Linked DNA regions of Homo sapiens: region 2 is linked to region 1. The links are contacts of gene promoters, found by promoter capture Hi-C in blood cells and fetal thymus (Javierre and others, 2016). All regions are on one chromosome and are shown on one strand. Each heading gives the region's core, a stretch centred on a gene start or on the middle of the fragment in contact. The rest is flanking DNA. Distances are from core to core; before and after follow the strand shown.

Region 1 (2,746 bases), core at 157-2,656:
GAAACCCAAACTCAACTCGGCAGCAAACTGGGAGACACGAGAAGTTGACAGCAAAGTATCCATTTCCCCAAATCCTCCTTCTTCCAGTCAATGTGCATCGATGGGGTCAGCTCAGCCCTTAACTCGAAGACCCCGGGACCACAGGGGCCACCACGCAGCTGAGCTCTGCACAGCCCGGGCTGTTCCCGCGCCCGGGAGGCGTCTGGGGAGGAGGCTGGACGGCCAGACAATGCAAAGCTCCCCGGTGGCCGCGAACTCAGCCTGGGGCGGGGGAGGCGGGGGCGGGAGACGGAGCCGTGAGCGCCCTTCTCGGCCACAGCCACGGCCACGGTCACCGGCCGCCTCTCCTGACCTCGGCCTCGGCCCCCAGGTCCCCGGTCCCCGGGGAAGGGGCTCCGGGAAGGCAGGTTTCTCCCGGAAAGAAAGGAAACGCGCTGGTTTGGGCGCCACGGGCGGGGGGCGTGCGCCCTCCCCTCCCCTCCCCTCCCCACTGTGGGAATCCGCGGGGGTCGGCGGCGGAGGCAGGAAGGGCCTGGCGCCTCTGCTCGCGGGTGAAGGGGTCGCGGAACCGGGATCCCCGAGCGCAGCCGCCCCCACCCGAGGCTCCCAGCGTGTGCGGACGGAGGGGCTCGAGCCGGGATCCCGGGGGCCGAGGGGGGTCCAACTTTCCAGGGCGGGCGCAGCGCAGCACTCGAACCAAAGAGGGGTCCTGGGATGAGGGTGCGGGCACAGCGCGGAAGGGGGGGGGGCAGAGGCGGGGACGGCGGGGTGGGGGGCGGGGAGAGGACAGTGGGTCGGGGGGCGGGGGACTGGGGGCAGGGGTCGGGGGGTGGAGGGCGGGCAGGGGGACAACGGGGTTGGCGGAGGGCAGGGGTAACGGGCGTGGGGGGCGGGCAGGGGTAACGGGCGTGGGGGGCGGGCAGGGGCCGGCGAGGCCCGCGCCGCTCACCTTCCTGTGCTTCTCCTTGTAGGGCAGCGCCAGCCACGGCATGTCCCGCACGAAGTCCTGCCACTGCCGCTGGTCCTGGTCCGAGGACACGAAGACGATCTCCAGGCGCCGCCGCGGCTCGGGCTCCGCCGCCGCCCCGGCCCCCGCTCCCGGCCCCGGCCCGGCCGCCGCGTCCCCCCGCAGGCGCCCGTAGAAGGCGGCCAGGCTGGCGCTGAGCTGCGCGCAGGGGGCGCTGAGGCTGCAGCCGAAGTAGAGACCCAGCAGCGAGATGCCGCGGGCGCCCAGCGAGTGCACGTCCACCTCCTCGCCGCCGCCCGTCACCAGCTTCTCGCCGAGCAGCTCCTCCAGGAAGCCCGACATCCTGGCCCACCGCAGGGCGGGCAGGCGGCTGCGACCCCGCTCCACGGTCCGCGCGGCGGGAGGAGGCGGCGGCGTCGGCGGCAGGCGCTGGGGAGAGCAGAGCCCGGCCCAGTAGGGCCGCCCACGCCACGCCCCCTCCGCCTGCCCGCGCCACGCCCCTTCCCCCGCCCTGCCACGCCCCCTCCGCGGCCCGCGCCACGCCCCTTCGGCTGCCCTCGCCACGCCCCTCCGCCCGCCCTCGCCACGCCCCCTCCGCCCTCGCCACGCCCCGTTTGCGGCCGGCGGTGGCCAGAGCTCTCCGCCCAGGCGGGGTCCGCAGCTGCCGGCCGCGGTGCGCGGGGTGACTGCTTGGGCGAGAAGCCGGACCCGAAACGCCGCACTCTCCCTGGAAAGCCCACGGCCGAAGTGAAGAAAGGAGAAGGGCCCGCTGAGCCGGCGCTTTCCCGGGCTGCAGCCCGGCCCGCATTTTCTCTCCTCCCCAGTTCTAAATTCCCTCCAGACCTCCAGGGATCCCGCCCCCTCCCCGCGGAGCTCTTCACCCTCTTCCTGTTCCTCCCCGGCCTTTCCCTCCTCCTCTCCCTGCACGAAGCCTGACCCTTAGGCCGCTCCGGGCCCCACTGACCCTGAGATGCTTATAGGACCCGCCGTCCTCACTGCATCAGGCCGGGCCTGGCTGGACACTGACTCCTCTGTGTGTTCCAAGCTGTTCTAAGGGGGCCGAGGACGCCCTCGCAGCTTCTGGTGGGGTCTGGTTAGGGTGCCAGGTCTCAGTGTGGGATTTCCGTCCAGGGGTCGCCGGGGCCTCTCCCCCCAGCGAATCTGTCTTCCAGCCCCACAAATGGATGCAAAGGACGCCGCGGGGCCTCCAGACCAATGCTGGCCGCGCTCCTGAATCCGCTCCATCCTCATGTCAAGTCTATGGATAGTTGAGAACATTTCTAGAGATTTTTTTTTTCCTACCAGCTGGCAGGATGCTCCCCAATGCTTAGGGAGAAGCTGGATTAAACAGGTGGTCTGGGCCGGGCGCGGTGGCTCACGCCTGAATTCCCAGCACTTTGGGAGGCCGAGGTGGGTGGATCACAAGGTCAGGAGTTCGAGACCAGCCTGGCCAATATGGTGACACCCCCCCCCCGCCTCTACTAAAAATACAAAAATTAGCGGGGTGTAGTGGCAGGCACCTGTAATCCGAGCAACTCAGGAGGCTGAGGTAGGAGAATGGCGTGAAGCCGGGAGACGGAGGCTGCAGTGAGCCGAGATCGCTCCATTGCACTCCAGCCTGGGCAACAGAGCAAGACTCCGTCTCAAAAAAAACAAAAAAACAGGTGGTCCGTGGCGAGTACTCTGGCCACGCAGCGCCTCCCCCCAACCCAACCCACTGGTGCACGAAGCAGGTGCAGATCCGGGCCCAGCCACAGTAACAGGCCGCCGGTGTGGATC
Region 2 (2,746 bases), core at 185-2,684, 830 kb before region 1:
TACAGAAGCACTAGAAAATGCATGTGGACAAAAGTTGGGATTAGGAGAGAGAAATGAAGACATATGTCCACACAAAAACCTGTTCATTGCAGCTTTCTACCATCACCAAAAATTGCAAACAACCACACGCCCTTCAACTGGGGAACTCATCAACAACAAACTTGTGGTTTACCCACACAATGGAAGACCACTTAGCAACAAAAAGGACCAAACTCCTGGTACATGCAACTGACAGATGAATCTCAAACGCATTCCTCCGTGTGAAAGAAGCCGGACTCACAGGGCAACACACTATCTGACTGTTTCATGGGAAAGTCTGGAAACGGCAACACCATTGAGACAGAAAACAGGTGAGTGGTTGCCTGGGGCCAGGGAACTTTCTGGGGTCATATTCTCTGTGTTGATTCTGGTGGTGGAAACAAGACTGTCCCAGCCTGGGTGATACAGCGAGACCCCATCTCTACCAAAAAATTAAAAATTAGCTGGGCATGGTGGTGCATGCCTGTAGTCCCAGCTATTCACAGTGCTGAGGTGGGAAGATGCTTGAGCCCAGGAGTTCAAGGCTGCAATGAGCTATGATTGCGCCACTGCACTTTGGCCTGGACAACAGAGCAAAACCCTGTCTCTAAAAAAAGAAAAGAAAAGAAAAACTCACTGGATATGAATGATACAGGTTGAGGATCCATTATCTGAAATGCTTGGACCAGATGTTTTGAATTTTGGATTTTTTCATATTTTGTAATCTTTGCAGTATATTTACCAGTTCAGCATCCCTAACTCAAAAATTCAAAAATCTGAAATCCCAAACGCGCCAATAAGCATTCCCTTTGAGCGTCATGTCGGTGCTTGGAATGTTTGGGGTTTTGGATTTACAGCTTTGGGACGCTCAACCTGTACCTCAATAAACCTGATTTTAAAAAAGTTTGGGGGGATTCCCCTAAGCCCGCCACCCGGAGACAGCGGATTTCCTTAGTTACTTACTATGCTCCTTGGCCATTTCTCTAGGTATTGGTATATTGTGTCTGCTGTGAACTGTCCTTGGCCTGTTTGGTGACGGGTGAGGAGCAGGGACAGAAGGGTCCTGCGTGCCCTGCCTTCACAAGCCCCTGGAAGGAAAGTTGTTTTGGGATCTCTGCACCCTCAGCCTGGACAACTTGTGCCCATCTGGTGACCCCTCACTCAGCCACCAGACTTCCACGACAGGCTCCAGCCTCGGCACCTTCAGCCATGGACAGTTCCGCCAGCGTTGCCCTCTGTTCTGCTGTTTTCTCTACCAGAAGTGCCCTTCCCTCCTCACCTGACCACTCTGGGGAAATCCCTCAGCACCCTCCCTGAGCATACCCTACTCTGGCACAAGCCCACCCTGCAAAGCCCCTGAGGCCCGCCCTGTGGCGTCTCTCCCTCCCTTGCTGTCAGGACAGTGGTCCTGGCCACCGGGGCTCACGGAGCCGCCCTGTGCCGTGTACCTCTGAGCCCTCTGCACAGTGCCTTCTGCTTGCCTGTGGCTTTGAGAAGAAACCCCTTCTGGTTATACATAAGACAGCCAGAGAAGGGAGTTGCCCAGGGTGGCACAGCACGTTGCTGCCAGTTACTGCCATTTTCACGGGCATGAAATGGAGATAACAACAGGAGCGACCGCACAGGCTGCTGAGCGCGTCACACGCAGCCATCGCGCAGCTCAGGGATATTACGTGTAACTCGACATGTCAGCGATTGTCACAGGCACTGCTACTCCTGGGGTTTTCCATCAAACCCTCAAGAGCTGGGCCTGGGGTCAACTTCCGGCCTGGGGAAACTGGGGCAAGTATCACCAGAGATGAGCTTTATAAAAATAATGGTGCTAGCTGGGCATGGTGGCTTGCACCTGTAATCCCAGCACTTTGGGAGGCCGAGCTAGGAGGATCGTTTGAGTCCAGCAGTTTGAGACCAGCCTGGCCAATACGGCAAAACCCAGTCTCTACAAAAAATACAAAAAACAACTAGCCAGGCGTGGTGGTGCACACCTGTAGTCCCAGCTACTCAGGAGGCTGAGGGGGAAGGACTGCTTGAGCCCAGGAGTTTGAGGCTGCTGTGAGCTGTGATCGCATCACTGCATTCCAGCCCGGTGACAGAGTGAGTCACTGTCTCAAAAAAGAAAGGAAGAAATAAAGAAAACAAATAAAAATAATAGTGCAGACAAAAGGCCTTGACCCATCTAGCTTTGGCCCTCAGCATCAACCGCTAGATACGTCCCTCCCTTTCTTCTGGGGCACAGGTCACACTCTCTTCCAGGTCTAGGATGCAGCTGAGGGGTGCCCCTCTTACCATCTAATCTGTGCCCTTATTTCCTCTGCTTTAGTGAGGAAGAGGCCCCTGGTCCATGAAGGGGCCTTTCAGAGACGGGGACCCCTGAGGAGCCCCGAGCAGCAGCCGTCGTGTCTCACCCAGGGTGTCTGAAACAGATGTGGAGGTCTCGGGTGAGGCGTGGCTCAGATACAGGGAGTGGCCCACAGCTCGGCCTGTCTTTGAAAGGCCACGTGACCTGGCCCACGGCTGGCAGGTGGGACCCAGCTGCAGGGGTCCAGCAGCACCCACAGCAGCCACCTGTGGCAGGGAGGAGCTTGTGGTACAGTGGACAGGCCCTGCCCAGATGGCCCCCCGCCTGCCTGTGGAAGTTGACCAGACCATCTGTCACAGCAGGTAAGACTCTGCTTTCTGGGCAACCCAGCAGGTGACCCTGGAATTCCTGTCCATCTGGCAGGTGGGC

The links. The method cuts DNA at HindIII sites, captures the fragments that hold promoters and counts their contacts. A CHiCAGO score of 5 or more calls a contact.
Region 2: a fragment that was not itself captured here is called in contact with the fragment with the promoter of NXN in region 1 in 14 of 17 cell types (M2 macrophages, M0 macrophages, naive CD8 T cells and 11 more); the score reaches 18.0 in M2 macrophages.

The regions. Positions count from the first base shown.
Region 1 is chr17:978,370-981,115 of GRCh38, forward strand. It overlaps NXN (nucleoredoxin), which reads right to left and starts at 1,407. Exons shown (of 8, transcript NM_022463.5): 1 at 950-1,407. The coding sequence starts at 1,309. RefSeq lists enhancers at 320-1,255, 2,680-2,746. The HindIII fragment of the contact is 5,276 bases long and covers 1-2,746 here.
Region 2 is chr17:150,644-153,389 of GRCh38, forward strand. The region is part of intron 6 of DOC2B (double C2 domain beta); the gene reads right to left. Among named protein-coding and RNA genes, the nearest start is that of SCGB1C2, 14 kb to the left of the region's middle. The HindIII fragment of the contact is 3,739 bases long and covers 1-2,746 here.